Regions from separate parts of the Homo sapiens genome. Here regions 1, 2 and 3 are each linked to region 4. The links are contacts of gene promoters, found by promoter capture Hi-C in human tissues and cell types (Jung and others, 2019). All regions are on one chromosome and are shown on one strand. The core of a region is centred on a gene start or on the middle of the fragment in contact, and the rest is flanking DNA. Distances in the headings are between cores, read along the strand shown. Region 1 overlaps LOC100128340 (a long non-coding RNA gene). Region 2 holds the start of LOC124901146 (a long non-coding RNA gene). Region 3 has its middle 18 kb from the start of PROP1. Region 4 holds the start of B4GALT7 (beta-1,4-galactosyltransferase 7).

The links. The method cuts DNA at HindIII sites, captures the fragments that hold promoters and counts their contacts. A contact is called where the count stands out against the background at its distance.
Region 1: a contact is called between a fragment that was not itself captured here and the fragment with the promoter of B4GALT7 in region 4, in 1 of the 25 tissues and cell types used here (aorta).
Region 2: a fragment that was not itself captured here is called in contact with the fragment with the promoter of B4GALT7 in region 4 in 1 of the 25 tissues and cell types used here (IMR-90 fibroblasts).
Region 3: a fragment that was not itself captured here is called in contact with the fragment with the promoter of B4GALT7 in region 4 in 2 of the 25 tissues and cell types used here (dorsolateral prefrontal cortex and thymus).

What each region holds. Positions count from the first base shown.
Region 1 is chr5:177,958,852-177,961,551 of GRCh38, reverse strand. It overlaps LOC100128340 (a long non-coding RNA gene), which reads right to left. Exons shown (of 4, transcript NR_149047.1): 4 at 1,752-1,833. Among named protein-coding and RNA genes, the nearest start is that of PROP1, 36 kb to the left of the region's middle. The HindIII fragment of the contact is 6,748 bases long and covers 1-2,700 here.
Region 2 is chr5:177,937,107-177,939,806 of GRCh38, reverse strand. It overlaps LOC124901146 (a long non-coding RNA gene), which reads left to right and starts at 337. Exons shown (of 3, transcript XR_007059075.1): 1 at 337-392. LOC100128340 (a long non-coding RNA gene) reads right to left here and starts at 280. Exons shown (of 4, transcript NR_149047.1): 1 at 41-280. RefSeq lists an enhancer at 1-259. The HindIII fragment of the contact is 7,499 bases long and covers 1-2,700 here.
Region 3 is chr5:177,977,125-177,979,824 of GRCh38, reverse strand. No RefSeq gene overlaps it. Among named protein-coding and RNA genes, the nearest start is that of PROP1, 18 kb to the left of the region's middle. The HindIII fragment of the contact is 5,363 bases long and covers 1-2,700 here.
Region 4 is chr5:177,598,707-177,601,406 of GRCh38, reverse strand. B4GALT7 (beta-1,4-galactosyltransferase 7) reads right to left here and starts at 1,275. Exons shown (of 6, transcript NM_007255.3): 1 at 1,147-1,275. The coding sequence starts at 1,196. RefSeq lists a silencer at 923-1,462 and enhancers at 1,643-1,822, 2,023-2,122. The HindIII fragment of the contact is 7,199 bases long and covers 1-2,700 here.

The DNA of each region.
Region 1 (2,700 bases), core at 44-2,543, 360 kb before region 4:
GTTCCCTCTGCCACGCTCCCTCCTCAGTGTCACCATGGCCATCGTTCCCTCTGCCACGCTCCCTCCTCAGTGTCACCATGGCCATCGTTCCCTCTGCCACGCTCCCTCCTCAATATCACCACGGCCATCATTCCCTCTGCCACGCTCCCTCCTCAGTTTCACCATGGCCATCATTCCCTCTGCCACGCTCCCTCTTCAGTGTCACCACGGCCATCATTCCCTCTGCCAGCTCCTTCCTCAATGTCAGCCATGGCCATCGTTCCCTCTGCCACGCTCCCTCCTCAGTGTCACCACGGCCATCATTCCCTCTGCCACGCTCCCTCCTCAGTGTCACCACGGCCATCATTCCCTCTGCCACGCTCCCTCCTCAGTGTCACCATGGCCATCATTCCACCTCCAGGTGAGTCAGCATTGGCACCATTGAGGACAGATGATAATCATTTTCCACAACAATGACAATCACAACCAATCTCACCGGCCAGTGTGTTGTGGCCACCGCCAGATCCCCAGGGAGGCCTCACAATGGGGACTCTTCCATGGGGACCGGCCATCTGCCTGCTCCACGTCTTCTCATTTGCTTTTCTTAAGCTTCTCACATCTCTCCAATAGCCAGAGAGAGTACCGCGCACCAAAGGGTTAGCTATGAGGCCTGACCCAAGACAGGAGGAAAAGTGGTTCAAAAGTTCTAGCACACTAGGGTGTTCCTCTCCATTGTGGGTGACTTCGCTTGTTCCTGACACACTTCACACCCATGGCGTCTGTGTCTGGGAGGCTGTTCAGATCCACGGCTGCTGCTGAGGGTGCTCCGCATACTTCACAGGACTTCATTTTCTTTCCCCAGAAACACTCTGAAGTCACACAGTGAGTGGCGCACCTCATCACTGACGCTAAATCCCGACTCCTCTTGCTCCTCTTGACAGTCTCGAGGTCTTGCCATTCACGGCCTCAGAAAGCCGGCACAGCCGTCTCAGGCCAGGCCTGTTTTCTCCTGCAGTACGTTCTCGTGTTTTTATTTTTCCTTTTTTTGAGACAGAGTCCTCGCTCTGTCACCCAGGCTGGAGTGCAGTGGCGTGATCTCGGCTCACTCCGAGCTCCGCCTCCCGGGTTCACGCCATTCTCCTGCCTCAGCCTCCCGAGTAGCTGGGACTACAGGCGCGCGCCACCACGCCCAGCTAGTTTTTTGTATTTTTAGTAGAGACGGGGTTTCACCGTGTTAGCCAGGATGGTCTCCATCTCCTGACCTCATGATCCGCCTGCCTCAGCCTCCCAAACTGCTGGGATTACAGGCGTGAGCCACCGCGCCCAGCCAAATAAATCTTTAAGAGATTTTGAAGAGTCTTCACAAATTTTATGTCAATGTGGATATAGCTAATGACTCACATACATTAGCATACATATTTTTGATAATTCAATAAATTTTATTCCCAAGTACGTACAGATTTTATTTCCAAGATGATGATAAGAAAATTGGAAGATGGGAAATACTTTTTAGCAACATGGTTTTTCACTTGTGTATCTGCTAAAATCCTGGGGTGTCACATAGACACGCTAAACCTCGTCTCTACTAAAAACACAAAAAATTAGCTGGGCGTGGTGGCGGGTGCCTGTAGTCCCAGCTACTCAGGAGGCTGAGGCAGGAGAATGGCGTGAACCTGGGAGGCAGAGCTTGCAGTGAGCCAAGATCACGCCACTGCACTCCAGCCTGGGCAACAGAGTGAGACTCTGTCCCAAAAAAAAAAAAAAAAGGAGGAGGGGAATGAAAGGAGATGAAAGAGGAGATAAATTACATTCAGATGGTGGCCTCTTCTGTCGGCATTAAATTGGCCAAATGACCTTCAGGGTGTCCAGAGCAGCAGCGGTGATGGGGCAGCCATGGGAAGGAAAGGGGAGAGTTAGAGTCGAGGGGCCATTTGGGCCCCGCTGTCCTGGGGCTGTGACGCCAACCCCAGAGGCTCTAGTGTGCTCATCTCTAGAGTCCTCTCCACAGCCTGGATCACTTCCTCCCTACAGCGAGGGAGGGGCCTCTGATTTCCCACATGCTTTCCCAGCCTTCAAATTCCATAACCCTCAAATTCCCCAGGGAGGGGAGGCCCGTGTCATCCCCTTTCCCCAGGAGGCGGCCACTGTCTCCATGATGCTCTGTGCCTGGCACAGACTTCCCTCTCTGCTCTAACCGTTAGGGCCTGATTTTGTTCTCCTGATTGATGCCCGTTTCCTTTCTCCATGTCAACCTCCACCAGTGCTACTGGTCTCCAATAGAACAACATTGGAAAGAAGGGCACTGCCAGTCCTTCCAGTAAATCCATGGATCCCACCCTAGGTCAGGGACATGGCCACAGGCCTGGGTTGTGTTGGGATCTGTGAGAGATGATGATGACCAAAGCCTGGGATGACCCTGGAAATGTAAACTATTCAAGCCTAACAAGAATCCCACTAGCATCTCAATGATTGGCAAGGACAGAACGGGATTCCAGGGAAAGCCCGTTTTCCCATTGCCTTAATCCGCAGGTGAAGCCGTGGTTGTTAGCATATGAACGAAGGGGCCCTGCCAGGGTTTGCCTGAGCTGTGGGAGGACTGGGCGGAAGGGCACCTGGCCGGCCTGACCCAGGGAACACGCTGGGCCTGATGGCAGCGTGGGGAACAGGACAAGGCTGCCAGGCCAGAGCAAAGGGCGTGACAAAAAATTGAGCCCTGTGCCG
Region 2 (2,700 bases), core at 52-2,551, 340 kb before region 4:
GCACTGGCCGATGCGGGCGCCTGCAGCCAGCAAGACTTACTTTTGTGAGCAGCCTCGGCGCACCGGATGTCGTCTTTGCCATCCCCAGTGGGCGCTGGGGCCGCGTCTGGAGAGACGGTGGCTCTGGCCGGCGGGGTGCGGCGCTAAGCCCGACCGCCCCATGCCTGCCCGGGTGAGGCCGACGTGGGCGTGGCACCTCGGGGCAGGGACTCCAGAGCACTCAGCGGCTGCGCGCCCTGCTCTGTCACTGTTGGGCCAGGCGGGTGCCGGCTGCTGGGGAGGAGCCGGAAGGGGCAGCGCAAGGCGGCGGGTGGGAGTGGGCACGGGCCGGGCTTAGCTAGGAGCGGGGCACGGATAGGAGTGGCGCACGCGTAGGAGCGGGGCGCGGGCAGGTACAGAACGCGGGCAGCAGGACGCGGAGGGGAGCGGGGCGCGGGCTGGCAGAGGTCAGAACAGGACGCGGTAGCAGCGGGGCTCCACTAAGCAGGGATAGGAGCGTGGGGCGGTAGCTGCCAGACAGGCGGGTGCTGGAAAGGCCACCAGTATCCTGGGTCAGCGCACCTCTGCAAGCACAGCCGCTCCTTTCAAACAGGTGCGCCCTTTCCACTGCACAGCGGGCAAGGAAACCAGGTGGGGATGCAAGATCTGGTACTGCTGGGGTTGCTGGGGTTGCGACCCAGAGGACTCTGAGAACAACACCCTCTCCCCAACCCCCCATCCCTACCCCAGCTCCAGGCTCCCCAGCAGCGCACCCCCGCAGCGCACCCCCAGCCATTTCTCAGAGGCAGAGGCACAGTGTAGCTGGGCCTCTGCATGGCCAAAGGTGGGAGGAGGGGAGGAGCTGGTTAGGGAGAGGGAAGGAGAGCCTTCGTCAGCATCCAGGGCAGTGCAGAGGGTGGGGGTCCTGGAGGCCTGGCCAAGAAGAAATGTAACCAGTTGTGGAAAAACAGGAGTTAGAGAGCAGGGAGGCAAAGGCGTTGGTCAACAGACACCAGGTGGCTGAGGCACTCCGGAGGGCTGAGGGGCAGGCCTCTCACTATCAGGCCCAGAGCTCTAGCTCGTAAGTTTCAGCTCCCTACTGTTCTCTGGGAGGTTTCCCAAGAAAACTCCACTGAGACAAATGTAACTTTCTTTAAGGCTGGGATGATCAATTTCTATGTTTATTCAAAGCCGCAGCAAACTTTTTCTATGGGAGAATTTGGCCACTTTCAGCCTCATGGGGGGGAGTGTGGAGGGGGTGGCCTTCCCCCTTCTACACAGGGGAAGTGGGATGTGGGACTGGCAGCCTAGGAGAGCCAGCAGCAGAGAGGAACTGGAGCCCCAAAGAATCCAATTTTCCCCCAAATAAATGATGCCCAGGATCACATTCACCTCTAATAACGGGAAGCCACTGGACCTGTGCTGGGGGGTCCTGGGGTGAGCCTACGACCCGGGGCTTATACCCAGCGCCTAGGACCCGGGGCTTACACCCAGAGCCTAGGACCCGGGGCTTACACCCACAGCCTAGGACCCGGGGCTTACACCCAGAGCCTAGGACCCGGGGCTTACACCCAGAGCCTAGGACCCGGGGCTTACACCCAGAGCCTAGGACCCGGGGCTTACACCCAGAGCCTAGGACCCGGGGCTTACACCCAGAGCCTAGGACTTGGGGCTTATACCCAGAGCCTAGGACCCGGGGCTTATACCCAGAGCCTAGGACCCGGGGCTTATACCCAGAGCCTAGGATTTGGGGCTTATACCCAGAGCCTAGGACTTGGGGCTTATACACAGAGCCAAGGACGTGGGGCTTATACCCAGAGCCTAGGAAACAAAGCTTATACCCAGAGCCTAGGATATGGAGCTTATACCCAAAGACTAAAACACAAGGCTTATACCCAGAGCCGAGGACACAAGGCTTATATCCAGAGTTTAGGACCCGGGTCTTATACACGGAGCCTAGGACATTGGGCTTGTACTCAGAGCCTAGGACATGTAGCTTATATCCAGAGCCTAGGAAACACAAGTCTTATACCCAGAAAAAACGTGAGGCTTATACCCAGAGCCTAGGACCCAGGGCTTATACACTACTTATATTCTACTTTTAGTAGAGACGGAGTTTCACCATGTTGGCCAGGCTGGTCTTGAACTCCTGACCTCACATGATCCACCCGCCTCGGCCTCCCAAATGCTGGGATTACAGGCATGAGCCACTGTGCCTGGCCTAGAACTGCAAAATTTAATTCAAGAAAATATAGGTCCTATGAAAGATTTAAGTTTTATAAAGCTAAAATCTAGTGTTTTCTGGTAAATTGCACTTTAGCCAAAACTCTCCCAATGCTTCTAAAATAATACTAAAAGGGGCATCTGGTAATACAGGAGCAATTTTTTTTTTTTTTTTTTTTTTTGAGATGGAGTCTCACTCTGTCGCCCAGGCTGGAGTGCAGTGGCATGATCTCAGCTCACTGCAACCTCTGCCACCCGGGTTTAAGTGATTCTTCTGCCTCAGCCTCCTGAGTAGCTGGGATTACAGGTGCCCACCACCATGGCCAACTAATCTTTGTATTTTTAGTAGAGACGAGGTTTCACCATGCTGGCCAGGCTGGTCTCAAACTCCTGACCTCAGGTGATCCACCAGCCTCAGCCTCCCAAAATGCTGGGATTACAGGCATGAGCCACTGTACCCAGCCATACAGTACAGAAGCAAGTTTAAAAATTAAATAT
Region 3 (2,700 bases), core at 120-2,619, 380 kb before region 4:
GTGCTCTGTCTTTCACACACACACACACACACACCCAGGGAGAAATGAGCTCCCACATGCTCTGTGTCTCTGTCTTTCACACACACACACACACACACACACACACACACACACACCCAGGGAGAAATGAGCTCCCACGTGCTCTGTGTCTGTCTTTCACACACACACACACACACACACACACACACACACACCCAGGGAGAAATGAGCTCCCACGTGCTCTGTGTCTCTGTCTTTCTCACACACACACACACACACACACACACACACCCAGGGAGAAATGAGCTCCCACGTGCTGTGTCTCTGTCTTTCACACACACACACACACACACACACACCCAGGGAGAAATGAGCTCCCACGTGCTCTGTGTCTCTGTCTTTCACACACACACACACACCCCCAGGGAGAAATGAGCTCCCACGTGCTCTGTCTCTGTCTTTCACACACACACACACACACCCAGGGAGAAATGAGCTCCCACGTGCTCTGTGTCTCTTTCACACACACACACACACACACACACACACACACACACCCAGGGAGAAATGAGCTCCCACGTGCTCTGTGTCTCTGTCTTTCACACACACACACACACACACACCCAGGGAGAAATGAGCTCCCACGTGCTCTGTGTCTCTGTCTTTCACACACACAAACACACACACCCAGGGAGAAATGAGCTCCCACGTGCTCTGTGTCTCTGTCTTTCACACACACACACACACACACACACCCAGGGAGAAATGAGCTCCCACGTGCTCTGTGTCTGTCTTTCACACACACACACACACACACCCAGGGAGAAATGAGCTCCCACGTGCTCTGTGTCTCTGTCTTTCACACACACACACACACCCAGGGAGAAATGAGCTCCCACGTGCTCTGTGTCTGTCTTTCACACACACACACACACACACACACACACCCAGGGAGAAATGAGCTCCCACGTGCTCTGTGTCTCTTTCACACACACACACACACACACACACACACACACACACACACACACACACACACACACGGCTGCAGGTGAGTTGTTTCTAGAACCAGAGCTTATATGAAGAGAAAAATAGAAGGGACAGAACAGTGTGTTCCCAGATCACACCTGCAGTTCCCACAGGCTGGGGTGGGGGTCTGGGGCCCGGCTCTGCTGGCTCAGTCACTTTGCTTCTCCTCAAGTTCCCTCTGTGGAACTGGGCGCTGTTTCCACCAAACCGTCTGCTCTCCAGTCCCACAGGGGCTGCTGTCAGTCACCCTACGGCCTCTCTGCCTAGGCTTTGAAACTGATTCATTGTTCTTTTGCTGTATTTTTCTTTGTAGGTTTCAGAATTCTCTGTTTATTTATGATAATTTGGGAAGGATCCTGGGAGAGTGAAAATAAATGAAGTGCGCAATCTGCCAAGTTTCACTGGAGGCTCCACTGATCCTTCCACCATGCTCAAATGCCTGCAGGAAATCTGGGGAATCATCTTTCCTACCCTAAGACCCTGGGACTTAGCACTGGCCCTGAGGCCCCTGACAGGCATAAACTAATCAGCAAATGTGCAGGAAAAATGCGGAGCTGCAAGATCAAAGTCAGATTCCCACTCTCCCTAAAGGCCTGGATTCCCCTGGAAACCCACATCCTCACTGCCTGGAAGGAGCGATGAGGACCCAGGGGAGTGGCTCTGGGCATCAACTGGTCCAGGCAGGAGGCGGTTCCCCATGTCCCATCTTTCCAGCACCGAAGGGAGCCTCTCAGGGGAGTCTCATCACCTCCCGCCCCACCATCACAGAGCAGCCTGCTCCTGGCCTGTATTCAAACACCCCTGGGGGCGGCCGCCCTGGGCGTGCTCCCCTTTCCCTGATGGCCGCTAGAACTCCGTGAGGAGAGGCTCGCCAGGGTCACCCAGACAGTCCCTGATCCCACATTGTCCCGACACATGAGGCTTCACCCCGGAGGAAATAGGAAAAGGGAGTGAATCCCATGGGCTCCCCTCACAAAAGGAAAGCCACGTGCTGTCACTTGGGTGCAAGATGGGCTATGAGGCTGGAGAAAGTCTCCCAGGGACGCCTCCTGGAGTCTTTTTTTTTCCTTTGCTACTGTGAATAGTGCTGCAATAAACATATCTGTGCCTGTGTCTTTATAACAACAATTTATTTTCCTTTGGGTATATACCCAGTAATGGGATTGCAGGGTGGAATGGTATTTCTGTATTTATATCTTTGAGAAATCACCACACTGTCTTCCACAATGGTTGAACTAATTTACACTCCTGCCAACGGTGTATAAGCATTCCTTTTTCTCCAAAACCTCGCCACCATCTGTTATTTTTTTATTTTTTAATAATAGCCATTCTGACTGATACGATATGGTATCTCATTGTGGTTTTGATTTGCATTTCTTTAATGATCAGTAATATCGAGCTTTTCTTTTCTTTTCTTTTTTAAAGACAGAGTCTCGCTCTGTTTCACCCAGGCTGGAGCGCAGTGGTGCCATCTTGGCTCACTGCAACCCCCGCCTCCCGGTTCAAGCAGTTCTCCTGCCTCACCCTCCCGAGTAGCTGGGATTACAGACATGCATCACCACACTTAGCTAATTTTTGTATTTTTAGTAGAGACGGGTTGGGGGGGCGGGTTTCACCATGTTCGCCAGGCTGGTCTTGAACTGCCGACCTCAGGTGATACACCTGCCTTGGCCTCCCAAAGTGCTGGGATTA
Region 4 (2,700 bases), core at 26-2,525:
ACAACTGGCACCTCCTGTTGTGCTAGGCAGTGCCATGCTCTTTACATGTGTGCGGTCCTTTAATCCTCACACAGCCCTGCAGAGCCAATACTGTCATAACTGGCTCAGTGACGGAAAGGCTGCGGTCGGACAGATGCAGGGGTCTCTGCTCACATAATTACGGAGGACTCCTGCCCAGGTCGAACGCTAGTCCACGCTTTCTATTATATTCCTGTTTTCCCCTTTCAACACCAAGTCTGAAAAATCCCCAAAAGTACAAGTTGTGGCCACTAAATTCCAGAATCTTATGGCACCTGACGGACTTAAGAAACATGAAGGAAATGAGGTGTCATTCACGAGGAGGAGATCCAGTCATGTGTTCTGTGAGAAGACTTACAGGGACACATCTCAAGTGCCCCACGAATGGAGGCAGTCAAATCGCTTTCCCCATTCTGCTTTAGTGAGAAACAAAATTAGCTAAGGTGTGGGCCAAGCTCGCATCTTTCACGTAGGGCCAATACAGCTGCACAGGAAATGGACTAATGCGTGTATAAGGAGTGTCTAGTACGTGCCAGGCAGTGACCAGCCAGGCAGAGCACGGAGCTTCTGTCTGGTGGGTTCTGCTGGTGGCCTGCGAAGGATGGGGGGAAGTGTTAAGGAGGAAGGGTAGGGTCTGAGGCTATATGGATGTGATGAGGAAGGCAGAGACCAGAGAAACGGAATACACGTCCTCAGGGATCAGAGACAAATTGAGAAACACAAATCCATGGTGAGAGGTCAGCGGAGTCAGAGACCCGCATGCAGATAGAGGGAGGCTGGTGGAGAAACACAGACACAACGAAACACATAACGAGAGAGACTAGCAAAGAGGGGATCAGAAACTCACAAAGGGAAGTCAATGGAGAAATACGGACCCACGGGCCGGGGGGAAGGTGCTGGGGGAAGGACGAGTGCCGCGGAAAGGGAGAGGGGGCGGGGGAGGCAGAGACCCACAGGGACAGACAGAAACCGGAACAGAGCGCCAGGGACCCACAGGGAGAACCACACGCCCTCACAGAAACCCGCAGACATGGAGACGTGATGGCCTCGGGTTCCCAGATTCCGCCGGCGGCCGAGAAGGGAGCGGCGCCCGGGAGGACGGGGCCCGGGCCCACCGCCGCCGCTCACCTGCCGTCCTCCCAGGGCAGCTGCGCCGCTTTCCTCCGCGAGGGGAACATCGTGCGGAGAGGCGGCGGCGCATGGGGCAGGCGCTCGCAGCCCGGCCGGCCCGGCCTCCCGGGCCTACGCGGCGCCTCCGCCTCCCGCTCCGCCCAGGCCTGTCCGCCCCGCCCCCCGGTCCGCCGGGTCCGCCGCTCCGGCCGCGCCGCCAGCTCCCGGAGCCGCCGCCTCCAAGGTTCTGCTTGCGAGCAGCGCGGGCGCGCCTCCCTCTCTGGGCGGCTCCTTCCTAGCCGCCCCGGGACCCGCCTGGAAGCCCGAGAAACTGAAGCCCAGAGGCCCAGGGCCTCCCAACAAATCACTGGGCTGGGACTGGACCTAAGAGTCCAGACTCCCAAACCAACGCTCGGGGAGAATCTGCATCTCCGTCCTCTTTCCGAGGGGAGGCGGGAGCGTCCCGGGGTCCCCGTCTCGGCCCAGGCGGCGCGTTCTCCGCGCAAGCTTGGAGGGGCAAAGCCAAGCTCACGGCTCGGCGCTGAGTTCAGCTGACAGCCCGCGCAGGCGTTAGGAGCCGAGCCCTGAAGACAAGTTGACTGAATTTGAAACCCGACTCTGCTTGCCGGGCGCGGTGGCTCACGCCTGTAATCCCAGCACTTTGGGAGGCCGAGGCGGGCGGATCACGAGGTCAGGAGAGCGAGACCATCCTGGCTAACACGGTGAAACCCCGTCTCTACTAAAAATACAAAAAATTAGCCGGGCGTGGTGGCGGGCGCCTGTTAGTCCCAGCTACTCGGGAGGCTGAGGCAGGAGCATGGTGTGAACCCAGGAGGCGGAGCTTGCAGTGAGTCGAGATCGCACCACTGCACTCCAGCCTGGGTGACAGGGCGAGACTCCGTCAAAAAAAAAAGAAAAGAAAAAGAAAAAGAAACTAGACTCTGCCAATTCAGCTGTGTTTTGACCAAGCCACATCTCTGCATCTGTTTCCTCACCTGGGTATATCAATGGCTCCTATTCTATATGGTAGCTGTGGGGATTCAAGGAGAAAGTGCAAACACTTGTGCAGCGCTAGGCACACAGTTCAACGCCATATAAATGACAGCTGTCATCCAGGAAAAGGGTACTTTGGTGGAGCTGAGAACTGAAGAAGGGAATAGGAGACTGAGTTCCCATATCTGCCCCGTCACCGTGGGAACTTAACCATCCCCCTCACCCCCAGCCCCCCCACCCCTCCTACTAGCCTCCTACCTGGGGAAAGAAAGCGGCAATTGTTAGACTTGACCTCCTCTGCTCTTCCAGGCAAACTTTTAAGTTTCCTAATAGATAGCAAACATCTATTAAGTTCTTATTATGTGCCAGTCATTGTTAATAGTTCTTACTACATGAGGGTTATCTCACGTAGTCCTTATCGGTAGGTGCTTATCCCCAAGTTAAAATTGAGAGAACTGAGGCACAGAGAGGCAAATCAGGTAGTTTGGTTGCAAATCTATGGGTTTGGGGTTTTTGTTTTGTTCTTCCCCACAATCTATGATCTTAATCACTCTGCTCCAGAGAGAACTTCACCGTGGG